Regions from separate parts of the Homo sapiens genome. Here regions 2 and 3 are each linked to region 1. The links are contacts of gene promoters, found by promoter capture Hi-C in human tissues and cell types (Jung and others, 2019). All regions are on one chromosome and are shown on one strand. The core of a region is centred on a gene start or on the middle of the fragment in contact, and the rest is flanking DNA. Distances in the headings are between cores, read along the strand shown.

What was found. The method cuts DNA at HindIII sites, captures the fragments that hold promoters and counts their contacts. A contact is called where the count stands out against the background at its distance.
Region 2: a fragment that was not itself captured here is called in contact with the fragment with the promoter of KLHL40 in region 1 in 2 of the 25 tissues and cell types used here (pancreas and spleen).
Region 3: a fragment that was not itself captured here is called in contact with the fragment with the promoter of KLHL40 in region 1 in 1 of the 25 tissues and cell types used here (dorsolateral prefrontal cortex).

What each region holds. Positions count from the first base shown.
Region 1 is chr3:42,683,800-42,686,786 of GRCh38, reverse strand. It overlaps KLHL40 (kelch like family member 40), which reads right to left and starts at 1,250. Exons shown (of 6, transcript NM_152393.4): 1 at 17-1,250. The coding sequence starts at 1,168. LOC124906232 (a long non-coding RNA gene) reads left to right here and starts at 2,986. Exons shown (of 3, transcript XR_007095893.1): 1 at 2,986-2,987. RefSeq lists enhancers at 2,476-2,770, 2,593-2,987. The HindIII fragment of the contact is 17,953 bases long and covers 1-2,987 here.
Region 2 is chr3:42,624,346-42,627,903 of GRCh38, reverse strand. All of the region lies in intron 6 of NKTR (natural killer cell triggering receptor), which reads right to left. All of the region lies in intron 1 of ZBTB47-AS1 (ZBTB47 and NKTR antisense RNA 1), which reads left to right. Among named protein-coding and RNA genes, the nearest start is that of NKTR, 25 kb to the right of the region's middle. The HindIII fragment of the contact is 4,741 bases long and covers 1-3,558 here.
Region 3 is chr3:42,723,093-42,726,650 of GRCh38, reverse strand. The region is part of intron 13 of CCDC13 (coiled-coil domain containing 13); the gene reads left to right. Among named protein-coding and RNA genes, the nearest start is that of CCDC13-AS1, 7.7 kb to the left of the region's middle. The HindIII fragment of the contact is 3,014 bases long and covers 348-3,361 here.

The DNA of each region.
Region 1 (2,987 bases), core at 1-2,500:
AAGGCTGGTCAGGCACCTGCAGGAAGTATGCGCTCATGGGGTCCTCTTTGTTGTCTTCGTTGTAGAAGAGGCCTCCAGCCACGAAGACCTGGTTCTCCTTGGTAACCAGGCTGACGTGGTTCTTGGGGACCTGGTTGGAGAGGGAAGCACAGTAGCACTCGTTGGCTGCTGGATCGTAGGCCACAGCGCCCTCCTCACTGATCATGAAGATGAGATCCTGCAGGAACATGCCGAAGCGCAGGGTGTCATTGAGGATCCCAGGAAGGATACGTTCGGCCTCCTCATCCTCCTCTGCTTTGGCTTTGCTTGTGCCCTTATCAGCCTCCTTGGCCCCGGCTCCATCCTTCCCCTTCTTTTTCTTCCGCAGCGTGGTGATGCGGCCCTCGTGTGCATCCTTCACCATCTGCACCTTGCGCAGCAACTCGGGCTGGGCACGCACGAGAGGGTGGCGCTCCACGCGGCTTTCCAGAAAGGCGCGCGGCAGCAAGCGGCAGCGCACGCTCTCGAAGACGGTGGGCAGCGCGCGCTGGCGCTCAGCCTGCGCCTCGGCGTCGCCGCTACCCGCCCACCGCATCACCGCCTCGAACACTGCCTCCTCCTTCTCCACGTTAAGGCCGTCGCTGGAGATGATGGCGATGAGCTCGTCGGCCGAGAGTCCGAGGAAGTCAGCGTCGCGCGCCACCAGCGTGAAGTGAGCGCAGATGAAGTCGCGGGCAGCCACGGCGAGACGCGCGCAGTCGAGCAGGAGGCCGAGACGGAAGACGGCCAAGCAGTTGGAGAGGCACAGGCGCTTCTGCAGGAAGGACACGCAGATGGTGAAGATGGAAGGGATCTGGAAGCGGTGTGCCGCGGCGAACAAATCCTGCACGCTCGCCTCATCCAGCGCGATCTCTGATGTGTACAGGTAGTGCAGCACCTGGGCCACCACGTCCGGGGACACCTCCTCCAGGTGCAGCTCGCCCGCGCGCTCCGGCTCGGCTAGAAAGCGCGCCCGGAAGTAGGGGCTGCAGGCGGCCAGCACCAGGCGATGGCACGGGAACTCGCGCTCGCCCGCCCGCACCACACAGTCGAGGAACTTGCCATGGTCCAGCATGTCTTTGAGCCCGTCTTGCAGGAGCGTCTGCTGGTACAACCGCTGCTCCTCCGCCTGCTCCAAGCCCAGCGCCATGGTGGGTGGCCTAGGGTGCGGTGGCGGTGCCAAGGGGGCTCCTCTCTGTACCCCTGCTTTCCTGCTGGGGTTTGCTTAGACTGAGCAGCTGTCTTCGAGGGGCTATATATAGAGGTGGCCGGGTCCCTGTAAGGCGAGCCGCCTGGCCTCCTGCACATGACGCACAGGGGACAGCTGGGCAGAGGCCCCCTCCCAGAGAAAGACTTGACTCAGCCCCGGGGGCTTATGGGACGGGGGTGGGGTGTCTGGGCCCTTCTGAAAGATGAGGGCCTGGCTGCCTCATTTCTAAATGGAGCACGGAGAGGTCTTGACTCTGGATTCTTTGGTCAGGAGATGCCCCTAGGGGAGAAGGTGGCCTAAGCTCTGACCCTCAGTCCAGAGACGGGAAAGCACTGGAGCCTCTCTTCCAGGGTCTCCCTTCCTTCATGCTTTCTGGGAACTTCTGTCCTGGTGCCTCCATCTTCCCCCCCGGAATATGTCTCACTCCAGCTACCCCTGGATACAGGGTGCTTGGGTTTTCTGGTCAGAAGTTGGACATGGTGTTCACTTTTTGGCGGCCCTGTTGCCCTGCCTTTATTTTAAGAGGCAGGGTCTCACTATGTTGTCCAGCCTGGACTTGAACTCCTGGGATCAAGCCATTCTTCTGCCTCAGCCTCCCTCGTAGCTGAGATTACAGACATAAGACACCACCCCCGTTGCCTCACCTTTAAAATGGGAAGAGCTTTTCCTCTTTCTGTCCCTCCTCCTTGCAAGAAAGCAAGAAGGTACCTTAGGTAAACAAGGTTGCCACTTTCCTATGAGGCCTGGGGCAGGGCATGTCGCTCTGTTAAGCCACAGTTTCCCTTCCTACACAATGAGGAGGTGGCAAAGTTAGATGCTAAGGACCTCAGTTCAACTCTGCTGGAAGTTTAGAAGCACCAAGGTACTGTGTCCTGGGAGTACACTATTAGTTTTAACACTTCTAAGGTGTCAGATGTGCTAGCAAATTAATTTCTTAGGATTCTACTATTCTAGGTTTTTAAACCCCCGGGGTTTTAACATTCTAGGGAGTGACATTCTGAATTCTAGTGTTCAAAAAGTAACACTACAAGTTTAATATTTCAGGACTTTAGCTATCTATACTCACTATTCTTGGTGCATATTAGGCCAGACCTGAGACTGCCTGGCCATGGGGCCCCTGCACCTTGTCTATGGTCTGAGGGACCAGGGTTGAAGCCCAGGACAGCCAGTCTTGATGCCTACCTTGTTCTAGACTACTGACACCCCTCCCCACACCCTCCCCACCCCGCCCCACCACCAGACACACACACACACACACACACACACACATCAGCCTCAGTCACCAAGATTAACTTGTTCCCAAAGTGCCAGAGGCTGCAGCTGTGTGTTAAATTTAGCCCCCAGGACATTGGAATGAACTATTATGAGACACACCCCCATCATTCCTCTGAGTCACTTGTTTATAACGTCAGGCGGGGGAGTGGGGGAGGGGGTGGGTATAGGAGAGATGACAGCAGGCTGGGCTAGGACTGAGTCACCTCCCTTTTGTGATCTCAGCAATATCACTCTCTGTCCCTTTTGTTTTTAGACGGAGTTTCGCTCTTGTTGCTCAGGCTGGAGTGCAATGGCGCAATCTCAGCTCACTGCAACCTCCGCCTCCAGGGTTCAAGCAATTCTCCTGCCTAAGCCTTCCTAGTAGCTAGGATTACAGGCGCTGACCACCACTCCCGGCTAATTTTTTTTTTTTTTTTTTTTTTTTGGATTTTTAGTAGAGACGAGGTTTCACCATGTTGGCCAGGCTGGTCTTAAACTTCCGACC
Region 2 (3,558 bases), core at 520-3,019, 59 kb after region 1:
AATCTTCAATTAAAAGAAAAATTGCATTGATCTTAAAAGCGGCTGTTTAAAGAGCTGTGCAATGGTGACACATGCTCAGTAAGTTAAGGCCAGAGGCTATCAAAAATGTTTAAATTTATATATGCTTATGAAAACATACCTAAAAAAGAAAAAACCACAAAGAACATTTCAAATTGTAAAACCTTTCAATATTTATGCATTTCCATTTTTCTCTTGTACTTAAAGACAGTGATTTTTCAGTTTTCCCGACCCCTGAATCTACTTTAAAAAACATGTGTGCAAGGTATTTAAGCCTTATAAATCTTAGAAATTGACAAGTGTCACTGCTACTCCAAAAACAATCTATAGTTTTATACCATTATCAGAGAACCTTTTGCCCTTATACAGAAATGACTAATTCCACACTGAAATGAGAACTAAAACCATACTATAAACTAATAACCCCACTCCCCCACCAGAAGATGTACAGGAACTTGGTGGAAACAAGCCACTGAAGTTAAAATATAGTTCCCAGGATTAACCATGAAAAATAAAATGCACTTGTTTTACATGTACTGCTGCTATACAGATAAAGCAGAAAGTTTTTTTTTTTCTTAAAATGTTTCAATGCACATAACAACAGAATTAAAGAGATAAAGGCAAAGAGAGAGAGAGCCTTAGAGTAATGAGACATTACCTTTGGAGCGCACGGTGTAACACTCTTTCTGTAAATTTTACACAAAAATGGCAAGAAATAAATTGTAATACACTTTTAAGACAAGACTGAATCTATGTTTTAATATCAATATAACTTTGAAATTAATTATTTTCAAGTTTTATGCAGAGCAAGAAAGCTTTTTTAAATGGAGGGCTCTAAATTTTCTTTCATATGGGATATTTACGTAGAGATGAATTATGCTTAAGAAAAGCATCGTGGCTAAGTGGGAATCTATTTAGATCCTTAATATTGTAACATAGAGTGCCAATAATAGCTATTAACATATTACATTTCCTTTCACAAATCCCAGAAATTAGCTAAGACAACATTTTCTCAAAAGAGAATAGTGTATCTTGCATACATACATAAATATAAAAATCTGAATGCCCAGGACCAGTTACTACCAGTTGAAAGCAAAAATTTCATTAGAAAAAAGTGAGTTAAGATCATCCAAAATAAAATTTCAAGGAACTTTTAACTAATTCACATCAAATAATTAAAGAACCTTTCATGCTTCTACATTTGAAACCTTTGTTTGGTGACGTATCACAACAGACTACTTTCAGGAGTTAATGAGCAAATGTTCGGACCCTAGTTACTGTTCAGTGATATTAGATACACATTGAAGTTAAGTCACTGAACATAATAATAAAGCAGCATTAACTACAATTTTAGGGACCTTCTCAGAGAATAAAAAGGCAAGAGAGATGAAAGCGTAAGTGCAGTCAAATCTTAGCCACAATATCTTCTTTTCCTGTCTAATCTCTGATTTTCCCCATTATCAAGATTTTTTTTTGGAGAACACACACTGACCAATTTTTATCTATATTTAAACAAATAAATCTATTACTACTCAGATCAAAATACTATTATACCATGAACAAAATGCTTTATAAGAGTTTTGAATGTAATAAATCTTGAAATATTTAAAAATAAGCTTAAAATTATCATAAAGGCATTGACAACATGAATAAGTCAAAAAAGAACATAATGTTTGAAATAATGTGGAGTTTTCAATGAATGTTGCAAAAAAAAAAAATAAGTGACTGTAGGTGTAAAGTAGTACAGAAGAGGGAAATAAAGATAACTTCTGTCCACTTTAGCTTTTAACATGCAATGCTTTCCCTTCAACTCCTGAAACTATCACACTGTCAGGGAAGAGGCACCAAATTGTACAGAATGACAACACTTGTATAAGGGTAATGGAAACTAACCAAGCCACTTGACAATGCTCTACCCATGTGTTCCAAAAGTCACCAAAATAGAAGTGCTTTCTAAAATTCAGCACTAATGTTAAGATAATACACACCAAACATTACTAGATAAAAAATTTCTTCCACATTGCTAGCACGTAAGTCACATAAACATTAAGTTATTAAGCCTGAATGTTAGGGATGACACTTGATATTCAGAGAATATGGTTTATGGCTAAGTTTCACGAACATCTTTGCTCATGAAAAAATCTGAAATTAACATATGAAGGTATTACCCCAAAAAAAGGAAGGAAAAAGCTAGAGCTTCTCAGGTTATTAACACTTACTAGCATTTCTTCTTACATAAATTTATGAATACGTGGGTAGAAAAAGCATTTCTACCCCGAATCTAGTTTTATTACCCAAAACATCAACACAGCTTTACAAACCCCTTAAAACCAACTACTCCTCAACTCTCCTTGCTCCACTACTTTGTAATAATCAGCACTTCTCTCCCATTCAGGTACTTGCAAGTCAGATTCTTAAATGACATAAAACATATTCTAAAACTTATGCCCCGCCCCCCCATTGCCCTATTTATGACTGTTAAAATGTAGCAAACATGTTTTGTTTAAAGTTCAAAGTTTGACTCTTCTATATTATCTTGTTTTCTTACATTGTTATAATTATTAATGACCACTGACAGTGGCCAGTGACAGGAACTGTTCTTGCAGGGTCTGCAGATCCCTACTCTATGGCTGCGCAGACTCATGTTCTAACAGCAGCTGATGAAGAGACTTCTGTTGCTCTTGATTTAAGATGAGCCCAATACTTCTTTAAGACATTTTTCAGACTAATGAAAACTAGGCAATTATGACTATTTCCATTAGGCAAGACAATGTTTGCACATAAATCATTCCACACATTCAGGAACTTACAACTACCCTACAAAATACCTTCTTCCTTTTACATCCATATTTTTATACCAATGTTTAAGAAAAACGAACTGAAGGTACATAGGAAACTAAAATCAAGGTTTCCTGACAGCTATATTAGTGTCCTATCCCAGAAGTTACTACAAAGCTATAAACTATTTACTCAATCTTTTTCATGACTATTTTATACAACATCTTTGTCTTTTTGATTAATGTATATAAAGACAAAAAAATTACAGCCAGAATTAATAAGCTATCAGTAACAGCAAAAGGGGAAAGAATGTTTCCCCAAATGTCATTTTGTTTTCCAGCAAAATGTTTGATGCTTCTAATCCTTAACTAAAATAAATTCAGAGCAGAGTGGTTAATAAAATTTTGAGCTTAAATAAGCTTAAATTTATAGTAAAGGCATTAATAATATGAATAAGTATGCAGCATTCTTTTTCTAGCTATCAGTTTCTTCCAGATTGTAAATAAAATTTCTATAACCTGGACTTTACATGACTTTTCAAGAATTTAGCATAATCTACAGAATGAAAAGGTTGGACTAGATAATCTCTAAATCCCTTTCCACTCTATGACTTTATAATTCCAGCTTTTATTGTGGTTTCTTCCTATTCTTTAACCTAAAAAATAAGAATACAAAGGACAAAATAAATACCAAATTAACTTGGTAACTTTAGTCCCAAATCTTTGAATTTCTTCAAAAATGTTCAAAATAAAACCACTGTTT
Region 3 (3,558 bases), core at 605-3,104, 39 kb before region 1:
GTTATACGTAATTTTATCTACTCAGAAGTTAGTGTTCTTTTTCAATCCAAGGACTTTATATATTCCCAAGGACTGCTGTCCATATATTGCCTCTTCCTCACTCTCCCTATTCTTTTAATCTAAAATTCCTAGTCCATATATGTTAGACTTATTCTTTCCTCCACATCTCTTTACCCTTACTATTTTGGGCTGAATTCTGGGTGATTTCTTCAAATCAGCTTTCTAGATCACTAAATATCTTCAGTTGTGCTTCATCTACCATGAAACCTATTTTGATAACTGTATTTTTCGGTAAAAGCTCCTGTTCTCAGCCAGGCACAGTGGCTCATGCCTGTAATCCCAGCACTTTGGGAGGCCGAGGTGGGTGAATCACCTGAGGTCAGGAATTCAAGACCACCCTGGCCAACGTGGTGAAACCCCATCTCTACTAAGAATCCAAAAATTAGCCAGGTGTGGTGGCAGGCACCTGTAATCCCAGCAACTTGGGAGGCTGAAGCAGAATTGCTTGAACCTGGGAGGCGGAGGTTGCAGTGAGCCAAGATCACGCCACTCCACTCCAGCCTGGGCAAAAAGAGCAAAACACCCCCGTCTCAAAAACAAAACAACAACAACAAAACCCTCTTGTTCTCTTTCTTATAGCATTTGTTCTTTCATTACAATTTTTGCCTTTCTCCTTTAAATAATTTTGAACTTATTCCCTTTAGAGTTTTCTACCATCTTCATTAATTAGGATCCTAAGTAATGTCTGTCGGCTCTCCCCTTGTAGTAAATTATTTCCTTGTGTGGTTTCAATTTTTGTGATTTTATGAGCTTATCTTCAGTGGGGCTTTTTTCCTTGTAGGAGTTCTTAGGTGATGACCGTGTTTCTGTGGAGGTGTTCTGCATTTGTCTCTGTGAAGCTTTTAGGGTTTCAGTGGTCTCTGATTGGTACTTTATGTGAATTTATTGGCTTAGATTCCCTGAACACATGAATGCTGCCCTTGTGTTTCAGTTTCACATGATTGGTGCTTCCTCCCCTCCTCCCCATTTCCCAAGGCCCTGATAGACTGCAGGCTTCCTTACTACTTTCCTGAACTTGTAGATGGATATTATCTTAGTCCTCTTTTTTTTTTTTTTTGAGACAGGGTCTCACTCTGTCACCCAGGCTGGAGTGCAGTGGTGTGATCACAGCTCACTGCAGCCTCAACTTCCCGGGCTCCAGTGATCCTCCCACCTCAGCCTCTGGAGTAGCTGGGACCACAGGCACATGCCAACATGCCTGGCTAATTTTTATATTTTTATAGACTTACATTAAATGCATCTTTACATTTTTATGGGAGTATATCTGTATCACAAATTCCTAAAAAAGAAATGGCTGAATCAAAGAATATGCACATTTAAAATGTTCACAAATCATGACAAATTGCCTTTTAAAATGAATCAATTTACATTCTTACCAATAATGTGAACTGTTTTCCCCATACCCTCACAGTTACTATGTTTTATTAATCTTTAACATTTTTGCCAAACTAACAAGGAAATGCTAATATCTCCTTGTTTTTATCTGCTTTGCTATGACCAAAAGTGAGGATAAGTATATTTTCCACATAACTTTTATGTTTTTTTCTTTTAACTACCTATTCATGCCATTGCACATGTTTTAGAGTTGTTTATATTTTTATTTGACTTATAAAAGAACACTTTATGTATCATATATATGGTATTATGTATATAATGTGTAATATTATGTATGTTTGTCTTCATGAAGATTTTGTGTCATTATGCTAAATTCATTCTTAGCATTCTTAGGTAGGGGGAAACCTCCTTATCTGAGTATTTTTTACCAGCACCCCCACAGTTACAGTCCCCATGAAAGCAAAATTTTTAATATTAAAACAGTCATCATTTGACTATTTAATATTCTTCACTTCACATTGGCATTGGGTCACTTTGGTCAGACTCTTGAAATACAATGAAAATCAATTATGAAGCAAAAAGGTAAATCTTTCAAAATATTTGGAATTTCATGAGATTGATGAACATGAGTTTGGAGAACTATTAGAATCGCAATCAAATACATTGACAAATTAGGATCTAGCTGAGTTAGGCCTGTTAACAACTGAAGAAAATCAGTGAGACCAGAGATTGGTCAAAAGAGAATAATCAGAATACCAAAGTGTGCAAGAGGTCTTGAAGCTTACGGACATCTGTAGATCCCAGGCAGGAGGAGCAGCCTCAGGTCTGGAGAGGGGGCGAGGACAGAGAAAGAGCTGGTTTTGGTGCATATTTGCAGGAAAAGTTGTAGAGCCTGCTGATAGATTGGAAGCTGAAGATGAGGAAGAAAGAGAAGGCAAGGGTGACCCCCGGGTATCTGGGCTGAGCAACTGCATGAGTGAGGATAATATTTATTGAGATGTGGAAGGCACGTTATAGGGGAGAAGGAGAGAAATCAAGAGTTTGCTTATTCCTAAAATTTTGTGGGAATTCACAATGTGGTTTGCTATTTTATATGATGTTTTGCTGTTGGTTTATTATTTCCCCTATTATAAATGGAGTTAAACAAAATGCATACATTATTGAAATTCATAACAGAAAAGTGAAAGCCCCTCCCCCACAGTTGAGTCAATAGCTGCCACATATTCCTTTTTGTTTTCAGTCAAGTGGCTGAATTATATTAACCTTATATTTATTTGTTTTTAAATTTTTAATTTGTTGTAAATTTTTTAATTAGATCATATAGTATGCATAATCTTCTGCTACTTATTTTACTTAGTATATTGCATTTTCATGTCAGTACGTTTTCCTTTTATGGTTACAGAATATTTTATTGTATAAATCCACTGTTATTTATTTACCATTCTTCTATTGATGGGTTATTAGTTTCTGATTTTAAAATACTTTATTGTGTTGTTTCCTTCTATTCTCATTTTACTTTGAGTTTTTAAAGTCAGGAATAGCTACTGATTTTACCAGTGCTTCTTCAGTATCTATTGGAAGGATTACCTGATTTTTTCCTTTAACCTAATTCCGATGTTGAATCTTACAGCTCTAGTGTTCTTGGAACTATGTTGTGTTACTCTCTTACAATGCCATTGAATTTAATGTTCTTTCTTTTTTCCTCTATTTTTACTGTGGTAGGCAGAATTCTAACATTCCCACCCCCGATATACATGCCTTATAAACTTCTCTTCCCTTGAGCGTGGGCAGAACCTGTGAATATGGTAGGATATTATTGCCACAATTATGTTAACTTACATGGCCAAGGGGATTTTGCAGAGCTATTTAAGGTTACTCATCAGATGACTTTGTGTTAATCAAACAGGAGGCTCTCTGAGTGGGCCTGACCTAATCATATGAGTCCTTTTAGTCTGAGTCTAGCTGTCAGAGACAGAGGAAGCCAGAGTGGAAGCAGTATTTTCTTGCTGGCCTTGAAGACATTCTCCTGCAAACTGTTACAGGAAAGGGAGTTTTGATCCAGACCCCAAGAGAGGGTTCTTGGATCTCCTGCAAGAAAGAATTCAGGCGGAGTCCACAGTGCAAAGTAAACGCAAGTTTATTAAGAAAGTAAAGGAATAGGCC